2 separate regions of the Homo sapiens genome follow, and region 2 is linked to region 1. Evidence: promoter capture Hi-C in 16 types of primary human blood cells and fetal thymus (Javierre and others, 2016). All regions are on one chromosome and are shown on one strand. Each heading gives the region's core, a stretch centred on a gene start or on the middle of the fragment in contact. The rest is flanking DNA. Distances are from core to core; before and after follow the strand shown.

The links. The method cuts DNA at HindIII sites, captures the fragments that hold promoters and counts their contacts. A CHiCAGO score of 5 or more calls a contact.
Region 2: a fragment that was not itself captured here is called in contact with the fragment with the promoter of TNNC1 in region 1 in 3 of 17 cell types (M0 macrophages, M2 macrophages and M1 macrophages); the score reaches 6.5 in M0 macrophages.

Annotation. Positions count from the first base shown.
Region 1 is chr3:52,452,297-52,459,238 of GRCh38, forward strand. TNNC1 (troponin C1, slow skeletal and cardiac type) reads right to left here and starts at 1,745. Exons shown (of 6, transcript NM_003280.3): 1 at 1,696-1,745; 2 at 187-217. The coding sequence starts at 1,719. NISCH (nischarin) reads left to right here and starts at 3,308. Exons shown (of 21, transcript NM_007184.4): 1 at 3,308-3,438; 2 at 5,547-5,630; 3 at 6,366-6,548. The coding sequence starts at 3,346. RefSeq lists enhancers at 1-607, 4,287-4,962 and a silencer at 3,233-3,462. The HindIII fragment of the contact is 13,067 bases long and covers 1-6,292 here.
Region 2 is chr3:52,549,707-52,556,648 of GRCh38, forward strand. PBRM1 (polybromo 1) reads right to left here. Exons shown (of 32, transcript NM_001405607.1): 29 at 5,018-5,173; 30 at 1,041-1,111; 31 at 715-931. It also overlaps the pseudogene RNU6-856P. Among named protein-coding and RNA genes, the nearest start is that of UQCC5, 17 kb to the left of the region's middle. The HindIII fragment of the contact is 1,397 bases long and covers 2,316-3,712 here.

The DNA.
Region 1 (6,942 bases), core at 495-2,994:
CAGGACCACGGAGGGCCAGAACCCTGGGGCCACCTGCCAACCTGCCCACCTCCCTCGGAGACCTCTCTGAGGGCAGAGCAAGAGGGACCAAGCCTCTGGTCTCTGGCCTGGGGTCCTCTTCTGATAAGGGGTCCCCATGCCAGCCTGGACCCGCTGGTCTCCCACATGTGTGATAGGGATTCTCACCATTTTTCTGCTCTTCTGTCAGCTGCTCTACCTAGAAAGGAAAGGGAATCTCAAGGCTCAGACTCAGGTATAGCTGCTGCTGAGGAAACCAACCCATTCCACAGGTGAGAAGGCTGGAGCTGGAGGAGGCAGGCTATTTCCAGGCCACAGAGTGGAGGTCTCAGTCCTCCCTCCCTGCCCCCAAAGCCCTGACGTGACCCAGCTGGCCTCACTGCGACTGGGCTCAGGGCCAGGGTGACAGGTGGGCACCCCCTTCAGGACCAAGGTGACCCTCAGTAACAATAGTCAGTGACCACTCAATGCCCTTTCGGCCCCTGATGAAACTCAAGCTGGGTGGCCCGAAGGACAGCTGTCCCTCAAGTTGGGATAATAAAACCAGTGTGGAGGCAGGCAAGCCACCCACGGTAACCTGACCAGGGTGGCCACTGGGCTATTTTTAACGAGGAACAAAGTTAAACCTGGTGATTGTTCTGGGGACTTTGGCATGCAGGGGGTGGGGCAGCGTTATCTGGCCCCCTGGCCTGCTAGTGCCGCCTCAGAAGCCAAAATTAGTCCCCAACTCCGCCAGGCCTTGTATGGGCACTGGGTGGAGGGCTGTCCCAACCCCGGCTCCATGGACTCCCACAGGATAAGCAGGCGTGCCCCCAGAGCTGGCTATAGCACTTCCCTGCCCAGGAGTGAGGGAGGCTGAGGGAGGGGTTCCCCTGGGGACAGCTGGCCATGCCAGGATGTCCTTGCTCTGGGGTTGGGGGAGGTCACCACCACCCAGGATAGAATAGCATCTGAAGACCCTCAGTGACCCAGGAGGTTGCAGGGGCTTGGGGTGACCACTCTCCAGCCCTCATTCCCTCGCTCTCACCCCTAGCTAAGCCACTGAGCCCTGAGCCTGCCAGGCATGATGGGAGCTGGGGCCCCAGTTCTCTGTTCCTTCTTCCTTGGTTCTCCCTCATGTCCAGAACTTCCCTGCCTCAAACTTCAAAGCCCCATCTCCAGCCCAGGACTCAGGCTCTACAGACCCCTCCTCTCACACCCTCCACCCTCCAAAGCATCTTCGGCCCGCCAAGGGGCTGGAGTGGGGTGGCAGATTTTGAGCATGTGAGAAGCAGAATGTGAGGGGCAGAAATGGGGGTTGGGGACAGGGAGACAGTAATGGGGACTCAGACAGCTCAGGAGGAAGAGATGAAAAGAGAAAGGCAAAAACGTCCAGAGACAAATGCAGAGACATGTGGCTGAGCGACAGTGCCACAGACCACAGACACTTGGAAACAGAGAGTGAGACACGATGCTGAAAGCTGCAACCTCCTCCACCACCCTTCAGACCCGGAACCCCCTACCCCTTCTGCATCCTCAAACACCAGAATCACTGTCCCTGTGAGGGCCTGGGTTGAAGGCACGTAGGCCTTCTCCTTGGTCCCCACCACTTCCCTGGGGCTACTAACCCCGCACTCTCAGCTGAGTGAGCCCCCAGTGGGCCTGCCCACCCCAGCCCTACCCAGCCCTGTCCCTCACCGCAGCCTTGTAGATGTCATCCATGCTGGCGGCTCACAGGACAGCTTGCTGGGGTTGCCAGCCGGCCCTTGACTTAAATAGCCCTGCCCCGCTGCATTCCTGGCCCAGCCCAGCCCAGCCCAGCCCACCCCTGCGTGTAGTATCCTCCAGCCCCTCCTCTGGTCCCAGTGATCTCAGGCTGGCCTGAGTCCCCACGTCCTCTGCCCAGGGCAGGGAGCAGACGAACGGCTACAAGGACCAGGTTTCTTTCCCTCCTGTCCCCCACACTCCCCAAAGGGACTCTCTGAAAAGGTTTCTGGAATGAATGAAAACATAAGCCCAGTGCAGGACAGGAGCTACAAAGTCGTGGGCCCCAGGCAAGGTGCAACACAACAGCTCAGGCTCCCATCCAACCAGGTTGGCGGGTTGCCATGACCTCCACTTTCCAGATAAGGAAACTGAGGCTCTGGAGGAGTGGTGACTTGCCCAAGATCTGACTGACTTGGTAACCCCCGCCTTTAACTAAACCTCTCTGGAATGGGGGTGCAATGTGCAAGGAGAGGCTAGGAGTGCAGGGCCCTGCCAAGAGAAGCCTCGAATGCCAAGCTCATAGTAAGATGCTGTGGAACTGGTGAAGGAGGAAGTGACTGACCCACCTTAGGACAGGGTGGCCAGGAGCCCTTCTGCCAGAGGAGCCTGTCCCAGACCTCCCATCTGCCCAGGGAGAAGTACCCACTTCGGGCTTAAGTCAGCTGCTCTCAGTTATTCAACAGCACCCCTATAGATGCCCCATCTGTGGCAGGCTCTTTCCCTCCTCACCCTCCAATTAGGTTACCACCTCCCTCTTCTAGGTCTCATCTTTCCCCGGTTTAGGATTCAGCACTGTAGTTCCTGGGTCCAGATCAACCTGTCTCCCTCGTTTTGAACTTTGGCAGGCCACCCCGTGGGGTTCTTGTGCTCAGTGGCAGCACACACCCCTCCATCCACCTACACCTTCCTTCGTACAGAGTTCGTATCAAGTTTATCCCTCTTGATAAACACGCTCCCTGCCTCGAGCACTACTGCGTGCTGGGCCGCGCATCAATCAACCCACTCAGTTGTCCAGAAGCCCCACTGACAAGAGATCTCCGAATCTCAGAGAGGTTCAGAACTGGCCCAGAATCACTCTCGCCCTGCTCCGGCGGTAAGCACAGGTCCTATTTTCCCCTCCAACCTGCCTTGCCCTAAAGAGAAAGAGCCCAACAGCCAGGTGAGGCACTATTATGGCCTCCTTTATCAGGAGGAGTAAACTGAGGCCAGGAAGAGCAGTGACTTGCTTCGTGTGGCCTGGGAGACTCGGGACCTTCTGTCCCCTCTTCCCGAGGACCCAGGGGCGATGCCCAGAGCTGTCACCACCCGGGGTCTCAGTTTCTAGCAGGCTGTGCAGGGTACCGCCGGCGGCGCCACGCAGGTAGATTACGCAAGCGAGCACCTCGCACGCGCGCCCTGAGTGGCCCCTGTCAGTCACGCGCGGGGGCGGGGCGAGGGCGCAGGAAGAAGGCGGGGCCAAGATGGCGGCGCAGCGCGCGGCGGGGGCGACGGGCGGCGGGGGCCGGGGGGCGGTGGGACGTTGACCCCGCCCCCTGCTGCTGCTAGTCTGCGCCGGGCGGCGGTGGCGGCGGAGACCCGAACATGGCGACCGCGCGCACCTTCGGGCCCGAGCGGGAAGCCGAGCCGGCCAAGGAAGCGCGCGTCGTGGGCTCGGAGCTTGTGGACACTTATACGGTGTGTTGGGGGCGCGGGCACCCGAAGCGGGGGTGGTGGCTGGAACCGGGAGTCCGACTCGGGGGCTTGGGGAGGGGTCCGGGATCTGCAGCCCCGAGGAGCGGGTAGAAGGGTCTGCGATTGCGAGGAGGGGGCTGGGACGGGGGATCTAGGAAAGGGATCTGGGCCCCGCAGGTCCGGGAGAAGGGTTGCTCGGGGCCCGGGGAGGCGGTTTGGAAAAGGGTACGCGATCAGAAAGGGAGGCTCGGGTTGGGGGCGGCATCTGGGGATAAAGGGGGCTTGGGGAGGGGGGTGTCTAGATGAGGCGGAACCCCTCTAGATCCTCTAGGACTGGAGGGGCCCCGGCCTGGAAGACCGTTACAGGGGTCCAGGAGGAAGGCGATGGGGAGAGGGTCTCTGATGGATGGAATCAGGGAAAAGGGTCAGGCTTCGCAGGCCTTGAAGAAAGAGAAGGCGTCAGGACCCTGATCTGGGGAGCCTGAGGTGGTGGTTGAGATTTTCTCTGAGAAGTGCAGGAGAGACCTGGGGAGCAGATGCCTTGGGGGTCGGGCGGAGACAAGACCGGAGGAGGGGTGGAGCCCATCTATGGAGAAATGGGGGTGGTCTCAGTGCTAAAGCGCAGGCCCTATAAGCCTTAGGAATCTTCGTGACTTTGGGCTGTGGGAGCGAGATGGGGCAACAAGCTGCCCACACACACTTCTAAGCTATGGGGGAGACAGAGGACAAATAGCGGGTAGTTCCCGACTTTGACGGGGTTGGATGCCAGGCCTGTGAGCCTGGTGGGCTGCCTGGCAAAAACCGGCCCTGGACTAGGCATAGAGCACCTCCCTGCCTCCTCCCCTTTGTTCCCGCAGGGTAGGGAGTGGGTGGGGGCCTTGGGCCTGCCTGCACCTCCCCTCCCTGGCCCTCATCCTAACCTTCCGCTCTGAGGGCCATTCTTCTGGCTCTTTTCTCCTTTCCTGAAGGCAAGGGGAAGGAATCAGGCAGGATGGGAAGAGGAGAGGGGTGGATCTTGAAGCAACAGGCCAGCCTGGAGAAATGGCTGCTCCTCAGGGCTGGAGGAGGCTTCAGCTCCATGCTGCAGAGAGGAGGGGGAAACTAGGTGCAGGAGGCGGGTGAGGTCTCTAAGCTGATGGCTGACTGGCCATCAGCTATGGGCACATTCAGCCAGAGGGCCATCTTCAAAAAGCTCACCCTATTCTGGACTGCGCCCCTCCTCTGCATGTATGTCGGGGGAGGTGGTGATCTAGTTTGGACCCTACCATCCTCTGTCTCCGGGTGTGCCGAGTTGGACATTATTAACACACCTACCTTTTGAACACTTGCCATGGGTCAGGCCCATGTACAAAGCATTTTACATGCATTGCCTTACTTGGTCCTTGATTCTAAGATGGAGGAACTAAGGCTCAGAGAGAACTTAGGCTCCAAGTTACTTATATAAGTGACACATAAGCTGCAGCCAGGAAATGGCAGAACCAGGTTTTTAACCCAGGCCTTCCTTAACCTCTAGGCCATATTGCCTCCTGATAGAGCTTAGTTGCTACCACTCCCTCCCCACATCAGCTGCTTGTGCCTTGATTCCTGGCTCAGCAGCAGAAATCACAGCCATGAACCAGTTGAAAGGGTTGGAAAATGACTTGCTTCCAGGAGGTAGTCAGGGCACCTGGAAAGAAGTACAACAGAGAAGATGCTCAGGCTAGAACTGGCCCTGCTCTGCCTCCCTTGGAAGAAATGGCCTTGCCTGCAGCTCCGGTTGGGTTTTGAGTTACCTAGAGGCAGGAGGTAAAAAACTAAAGAGGTGACTTGTGGTAATCACCTTTTTCATTCCTTACTGATGGATGGAGCCACATGCTTGTCTCATGTGCCTCCCAGCCCTAGTGCTTGGGCCATGGAGGAAGCTGAGAGGGGCCCTGCTGGTCAGCAAGGGTCAGGTGCAGAGGCTGGTGGGCAAGGGCAGCCTGACTTTGGCCTTGGGGTGGGTCTGAGTTGCAGAGAGAAAGACTGATAAAAGATAATTGGGAAAGATAATTGCAGCTTTTGCTGCTGGGGGAGGAGACTCCTTGTTGCTGGGCTCCCTTGCCACAAGGGCTGTTGGTTTCCCCTTTTAGGTTTACATCATCCAGGTCACTGATGGCAGCCATGAGTGGACAGTAAAGCACCGCTACAGCGACTTCCATGACCTGCATGAAAAGGTAACTGTTAAGAGCTGGGAGCACGTATCTCAGGGCTGGGGGACCCGTAGGCCAACTTTCCATTGTGCCACATATTAGTTTTAGGGCAAAACAGGTTCCATCTCTATAGTTCTTTAATAAACCACTTTGTTAATATAACTGCGTTCATTAATATAGCATGTAAATGCTAGCCTTCAGCTCTAGCATGAGCCACTCTGCAAGGAGCATATTTGAATTTCAGTTTTAATATTTCCAGTCCTAGCTTGGGTATGAGATGCTCAGACAGTTTCCTGGGAAGGGGACAGGTTTGAACTTGTTTGATCTAGCGATAGCTATTCCAAAGCCTTACTTTAATATCTGGCTGTGATTCCATCTCTTTTTTTTGCTTTTGGAGATGCTGTCTTTCTCTGGGTCATTTGCAGCATAACTGTTTTAAAGACACACCGCTGCCCTGATTGGTTTTTACTCTGGCTTGGAAAAGATGGCAATTTTAGGGGCAAAAGGTGTTACTTTTCTGAATGTCTCTAAAGTCTCCAGATGGAATTCCTTGTCTAGAATTGTATTGGTATTTCTAATGCTAATTGGATTTAAAGAGGCCAAATCCCAGGTGCACTAGTTTGGTCACTGATTTTGGTACTACTGCAGGGAGGGGCTGTGCAAGTGCTGACAAGCGCCTGCCCTCAAGCTTCTTGCCTTGGTCTTACATAGGCACAGAGCCTCTTAGTCTGTGGTTGATGTGCTTATGTTTTTTTACAGCTCGTTGCAGAGAGAAAGATTGATAAAAATCTGCTTCCGCCCAAAAAGATAATTGGGAAAAACTCAAGAAGCTTGGTGGAGAAGAGGGAGAAGGATCTGGAGGTCTACCTCCAGAAGCTCCTGGCTGCCTTCCCTGGCGTGACCCCCAGAGTACTGGCCCACTTCTTGCATTTTCACTTCTATGTAAGTTCCTCATCGGGTTTTCACCTGTGCCTGCAAACCCACAACTGCCAAACTTGAGGCAGCAAACCAGGGGAGACCTCAGCTTTGAGGTGGGCTGGGGTTTGACCCTAGGTTAGAAGATGGAGGAACGTCACCCTGGTTAGGAATGCATTGTGGCCAGAAGCATGTTAGTTGACAGATTTGCCGTAAATTAGACTAAATGTGGCCACAGAGATGCTTTCCTCCACCACAAGGCATTTTGTTTAGCAAAAATGGCCTGTGGGTGTTTAAGCTAGGTTTCCATCCAGATGGATGAGGCTGGATTAGAAATAGCTGACACCTGGGATAGACTATTGTTGAGTTGTTGGTGCATAGCCCAAAACTAATTAAGGGATTAGTCTGTGATGGTGGAATA
Region 2 (6,942 bases), core at 1,764-4,263, 99 kb after region 1:
CCAGCCTGGCCAAAACGGCGAAACCCCATCTCTACTAAAGATAAAAAAATTAGCTGGGCGTGGTGCTGAGCACCTGTAATTCCAGCTGCTCAGGAGGCTAAGACACAAGAATCGCTTGAACCTGGGGGTCGGAGGTTGCAGTAAGTCGAGATTGTACCACTGCACTCCAGCCTGGGCGACAGAGTGAGACTGTCTCAAAAAAAAAAAAACAACCCAAAAACCATTTTCAGGCCAGGCACAGTGGCTCACGCCTGTAATCCCAGCACTTTGAGAGGCCGAGGCAGGTGGATCACTTGAGGTCAAGAGTTTGAGACCAGCCTGGCTGATATGGTGAAACCCCATCTCTACTAAAAATATAAACATTAGCCAGGTGTGGTGGCATGTGCCTGTAATCCCAGCTACTGGGGAGGCTGAGGCAGAAGAATCAGTTGAACCTGGAAGGCGGAGACTGCAGTGAGCCAAGATCGCGCCACTGCACTCCAGCCTAGGCAACAGAGTGAGACCCTGTCTCAAAAACAAAACAAAACAAAACAAACCATTTTCAGTGTGTTACGTAAACATGCAAAGAAACTCCAAACCATTTATGAAATATATAATTTATTTTAATTGTATAAGAAAAAGGGGTGTTTATTGTATGATATACTATGCTAACAGCAGTAAGACAGCTTTGAGGAAGCATGTATTTCACAAAGGCTTATTTAGAAGGAATCTTACCTGCCAGTGTCTGATCCCACTTGCTAATGCTGTTGGACTCCGCACTGAGTCCTTCAATGTATTTCAGGTAGGCCTCTGAGTGAAGAAGCCGCTGGGTCTTTGGTGGGGGAGCTACAAACATGGGTGTTGTTGGCTGCTGTATGACAGGGGGTCCAGCTGGATGTGGGCCGGGATATGGAGGTGGTGCCTGCTGCCCTGGAGGCCCCAAAACTCCCACCTGAAAGAGCACAGGACCACATGGTGAGGCAAAAAGAGACTCTGCACATGTTCTGAGAAGGATAACTCGAATTCTGTCAAGTCCTAGAAAATCAAACTGGGAGGCTCACCTGTTGTCCATATGGACTTCCACCTGGTGCTGGAGTCCCTACCATAGGGGCCACTCCTTGGTTCATCACACCTATAATTCAGAATGCAATGGCACAGTTAGAGGCTCTGGGTTGAAATGACTGAAAAACTACTGTCTGATAAGAAATGATGCCATTCATAATTCAAACCTATGTACCTCTGCCCTTGAATCTTTGTGGCTAGGAATCTTAAGCACCCCAATAGGATTTGAATAGAAAGTTGTTTTGTTTCTAGGTACTTAAAGTATAATACTAGAACAATCTGTCAGATGTACATCAATTATGGCTTAGAAATGATTTGAACCTTGCATAAAATTCTAGTATTTCTCTAGGTAAGCTATTGTCAGAATATACCTCTACATTCAAGGTGTTTTTCTTCTGACAACACATTCTCCTGCAACTGAAGCCTGTATTTAATTTAAGCAGGAATGGCACTGGAATCAGGCTCAGCAGTAAGCAATGTGCTAGGACAGCAGGGACACAAGGGAAGAGGCTGTGGAAGTGCATAGTTAAATGAGCTTTGTGAAGGCTGAAGGCACAGCCTTGCTATCCCCTCCCAGACCATCAGCAGCTGGTTCTAACTGGAGTCACTAGTGCTGGCAGGGAGAGAACACTTCCATCTGATAGAGTAGCACTCTGAAAAGGAATCATCTGAAGTGAAGTAACCTTGTTGCTATTGCTTTATATGCAAAATGACAAAGGAACAGAGAGACTTCATGGCCCTACTAGATTTGTACTATGTCCCTGATAATAATTTTGTAAGCTTCCCTCAGTGAATGCTCACGAGCAATTGTTGTCTCACAGGCACAGCTGATAATAATGAGATGTCCTAAATTTAGTGTCAGAGGCTCTTTTGATTTCAGGGTGCATATTTGCTATTCTGATAAAATACAGAAATAGGCAAGGGACCCAGTTCATTAAAATCAAATAAACCTAAAACTGTGGTGAACTGTTCTTGAAAACTTAAACAAATCCTGCTGGCTGTGTAGAAGAATCGAGAGGAGGTATAACTTCATAGTGTATAGTCCCTTCGGATTAAAAATCGTAATATTTTGTCCAGGCAGAAGCAGCTCCTCATTCTAAAGTTCAGAACTGTTTCATGAATTTGCATGTCATCCTTGTGCCATGCTCAACTCCATATTGTTCCAATTTTAGTGTATGTGCTGCTGAAGCGAGCACTAAGGTTCAGAATTGTTAAATGCCACTTCCAGGAAGCATAAGAGAGCCTCTTATTTGTTAGAAAATAACAAGTAAAAAAGCTTCTGTTTAAAAAGCAGGGAGTTTTATATTCCAAGTACCCAGAAGTCCACCCGGATCACCAAAGTAGGATCCTGATGATTATTCGTGAATGAATGAAGAGGTTGTGGTGGGTAAGCTGGTGCCCCAGCAATATATTATTAACCTCTGTGCCCATCACCTCCCTGTGCCCTGGGACACTCACCCACCTTAGATTCCAGAACACGGTGTGGCTCCCTAAACTGTGTAAATCATTGCTTTGCAGGGCAGCACAAATCAGCAAACTCTTCTGCTTCCTCTATTGACAAATGCCATACTTGGGCAGCCGGTGAGAATCTGAGCTGAGTCACCAAAAGAGCTCAATGAATCCCCTACTCCTCTAAGCCTGCTCAGACATGTGCATTTGTAGGCACTAAGAGGGGGTCTTCCCTGACTCCTGGCTTCTTTTTTAATTAAATAAAATAGATATGGGGTTTCACCATGTTGCCCACTGGTCTTGAACTGCTGAGCTCAAAGCAATCCTCCCACCTCAGCCTCACAAAGTGCTGGGATTACAGGATTGAGTCACTGTGTCCGGCCCTGTCTCCTCAATTCTAAGCAGGTGTGTTGGGCTTCCCTCCAGTTGAATTTAGGATTTCAGGAAGGTGGAAAGGAAGACAGCTATGTCCCAACACCCACCAAAAGACATCTGCAACCTAGAGGGTACTGGCATTAGACATGGATCCCACTAAGTGCACCTAGAAGGTGTAAACTCCAGCCTGGTCTTATTGGCTCAGTGATACCCTGTATCAAGGTGAGAGGGCAAAAAATTAAGGCCAAGTCTACCTGCCACATGGGAACATTTACCTTATGACTGACTCCTGCTGCAACAGCAATTCACACAGTCCACTGTTTTCATATGAAGCACCTAACCCTACAAACACTTCCTCCTCTGGCAATACCTGGAGCAAATGCTTCTGTGGAATTATGGCCATATTCTAAGCAACTCTCACAAAGAGTGTGGCTGGAGGCTCCAGGCCAGGCCACCAAGTTTGCTCACTCTGCACACTGCTGGGTGCACCCTCCAAAGCATCATTTGGTACCCTGCAAAACCCTATCACTGGTAGGTCCAACACTGGTACAAGCAAATTTAACAAGTTTCCAACCACATTTTACCATTTGGGTTGGGCCCTTAGCTGATGTTGTAGGTAATGGACCAAATGCTTTCCGAGTCTTCCAAAGGTCACATTCCCTCCATCCAGATTACAGCTAAGAGTTCTTTTGCATATGATGGCAATTAATATGGGAACATGTGATTTTCCTTTCATTTAGGTTTTCTTTAAAATAATCTTTCAACTTGCTAATTCACATTTTAAAGTGAAAATGAATGTCGCTATTTCTGGAATCCATTTATATATTTCTATATAAAAGAACTTCTAAGCTTCTGTTGACAGACAAACCAGTATCTACAGCTAGGAGGGTAGGCTAGGCTGTTCTTTAATGTCAGGCTTTTTTTTTTTTTTTTTTGAGACAGGATCTCATTCTGTCGCTCAGGCTGGAGTGCAGTGGTGCGATCACCACTCACTGCAGCCTCAGTCTCCCCAGGCTCAGGTAATTCTCCCACCTCAGCCTCCTGAGTAGCTGGGACTACAGGCACATGCCACCACACCTGGCTAATTTTTCCTTTTTTTTTTTTTTTTTTGACACGGAGTCTTGCTGTCGCCCAGGCTGGAGTGTAGTGGTGCAATCTCGGCTCACTGCAACCTCTGCCTCCCAGGTTCAAGTGATTCTTCTGCCTCAGCCTCTCGAGTAGCTGGGACTACAGGTGCCCGCCACCACGCCCAGCTAATTTTTGTATTTTTAGTAAAGACGGTGTTTCACCATATTGGCCAGGCTGGTCTCGAACTCCTGACCTCAAGTGATCCGCCCACCTCGGCCTCCCAAAGTGCTGGGATTACAGGCATGAGCCATCGTGCCCGGCCTAACACCTGGCTAATTTTTATAGAGATGGGGTCTCACCAGGTTGCCCAGGCTGGTCTTGAACTCCTGGGCTCAAGTGATCCACCTTCCTCATTCTCTGAAAGTGCTGGGATTACAGGCATGAGCCATTACACCTGGCATGTCATGCTTCTTAGGGAACTCACATACAGAACACTAATTCAGTGAAAATGCATTCCCTCCCTGCTTTTTGTTCTAAGACAGACTGAGTGAAAGATTTCTGAAGAGTTCTACCTTAGCAGCTCTGCAATCCCCTTAGAAAGGCTGCTTGAGGAGAAGTAGGAGATGGAACAGATACTCTATACCCTGTGAGATAAGAATTGCACCAGAGGGAGAAATGCAACTCAGGGGCAAAAAATGCTTTTACATGTTACTCTGAACTAGCAATTTGGGAAACTTCATTCACTGATAAGAGGACACAGCCTTCTAGGCTGTCTGGCTTTTCAAGGACATGTCAAATTAGTTGAGTGATTATCGATAGAGTATGCCTCTTGTCCCTTGGTTTGCTGAGTCTGGCCTCTGCCATGTGTGCTGTGCTGCTGCCAGCAGCCAGGTGCACAAGGGCACAAGTGCTGGGCCACCTGCTGAATGCACAAGACATGCCCTGCTGCTGACAACCTTTGGATTCTCAGGGAGGGAAGGCCTGGCCACAATGGGCCACGGGTGCCTCCTGGAACAACTGGTTGAAAGCGGAAAAAGAGAATATGAAGATGAGATTAATGAGTGAATGAGGATGAAGTTCTTACCCGGTGGTGGGATGCCCGGGAGGCCAGGCACACCTGGCGGAAGATGGTGGGGTGGAGGCCCCCCAGGGTGAAGTGGCTGCATGCTGCCCATGCTAACAAGGCCATCAACTGGGCCCTGCAAAGGTGGAAGGCCTGGCGGATAGCCACCCATCATGCCTTGAAGGACACAACAAATTTCAGACATGCATCATTAACATGCAACATGAGCTAAGTAATAACAACCAACCCCCACATGCACTACCAATGAATAAAGCACCCTTAGTACTGCATGATATAACAGCAATTAGTGCAATTATTTTGCTGCAATAATGAACAAAATAAAAAGTTACAAATATGAGACCCAACATTTTGGGATGAATTAGTACTTAGTACACTATTATTTGTAGTTATTTTCCCTGGGGTAAATATGCTGCATGTTTTCAGTTAAATAATAGTAAAGAGTTCTAGTAACAGCCTTCCCAAGGAAATAATTATTGCAAGCTGTTCAAACAGAGTGACCAGTTCTGCTGACTGCAATTCTAACTGAATAGTATAAACCCCATCATTCCACTCTGCCCACACTCATATGCCTATCATGGGTACACATGAGGGGAAATAGGAAGGGAGGGAAATGAGCGCATAGTCCTGATCACAAAGCATGGTTCTCCAGCTTTGGGGCAGGAATTGTTCAAGACTTCTACATCTACTCCTCCTTTCTAGCCTTACCACTGCTGGTAAGAATGGATTGTGCTTGGGCTTGAGTTGGGGAACAGCTTCTAAGAACCATCACAGTGAATGATATTTCCTTCTTTAGATCTAAAAATGTGATAAAGATAAAACCTAAACACTCCCAACCAAGCCAACCAAGTCCAGGTCACTCAGGAGCCTACACACAGACTTTACGGAGGAATGGCTGGAGAATTGGGCTCTGCTGATATGAGAAAATGCCAAATGCCATCAGTCTCCAAGCTCAAATGTCCTCATATAAACCTTAACAGGGAGCATTTTAATTTGAGGTACACAATTTCTGTGAACAGAGGCTTTTATTCCTTTATTTTCAAAGTGTACCTACACATGACAAAATATTTTCTACTGGCTAGAGAAGAGTTTCAGCAAACAAGTATTTTTGGCAGAAGGAATAAATGTAAGAAAAAAAATTCAAAATGTCAAGGACTCACCTATCAAAAGACCTTTAAAACCACATGGCATTTTTTTAAAACAAGAAAAACAACTTGACTTTTCTGGGATTTGTAATGATCATGATGAATAAGAACACAAAGCTCCCCCCAAAATGCAGTCACCTTTGGTCACAGCTTCTTGCAAAGGGAGGGTTGAGGGACTGGTGCCAAACCTCATTTTTATAAAATACTCTTTGCAGAGGGACTCTGTCAAATAGTGGAAAACTTCAGATTCTGAGAATTTTACTCTTGGACTTTCCCTGAAGATTTCAAACATATTTATTTATAAAAGTTTAGTCTTTTAAGGCTATGAAATTACTAAAAATTCTGAGGTCGATTCACCCTGCTTCACTAGTCATACCTAAGCTGACTAACTTACAATTACATAAACCGAATGACAAAAATTTGAATAATAATCTCTCTATACATAAGATTATGAGTTTTCATTTTTTTTTAAATGAAGAGTTCAGAAAGTAAAAACTACTTTTGAACAGACACCATCATCTTAATTAAACATGAAGAGATCCAATGCTACCAATCTTTTAACCACACCACCAGTTATAGCATTTAGGGTTAAGTAGGCGGGAAATTTAAGGATGTTAAGAGGCTTTGCTTTCAATTACAAAAGCCCATCTGAACGCAGCCTTCATGGGCTGTGGTTGAGGAAATTATTAAGAACTGAAAGACATGACACTTGTCTTCATTAAACTGTACTTTGGCATTTATTATCCCAGTCACATGTGTTCAAATGAGCTTCAATGCTTGTAA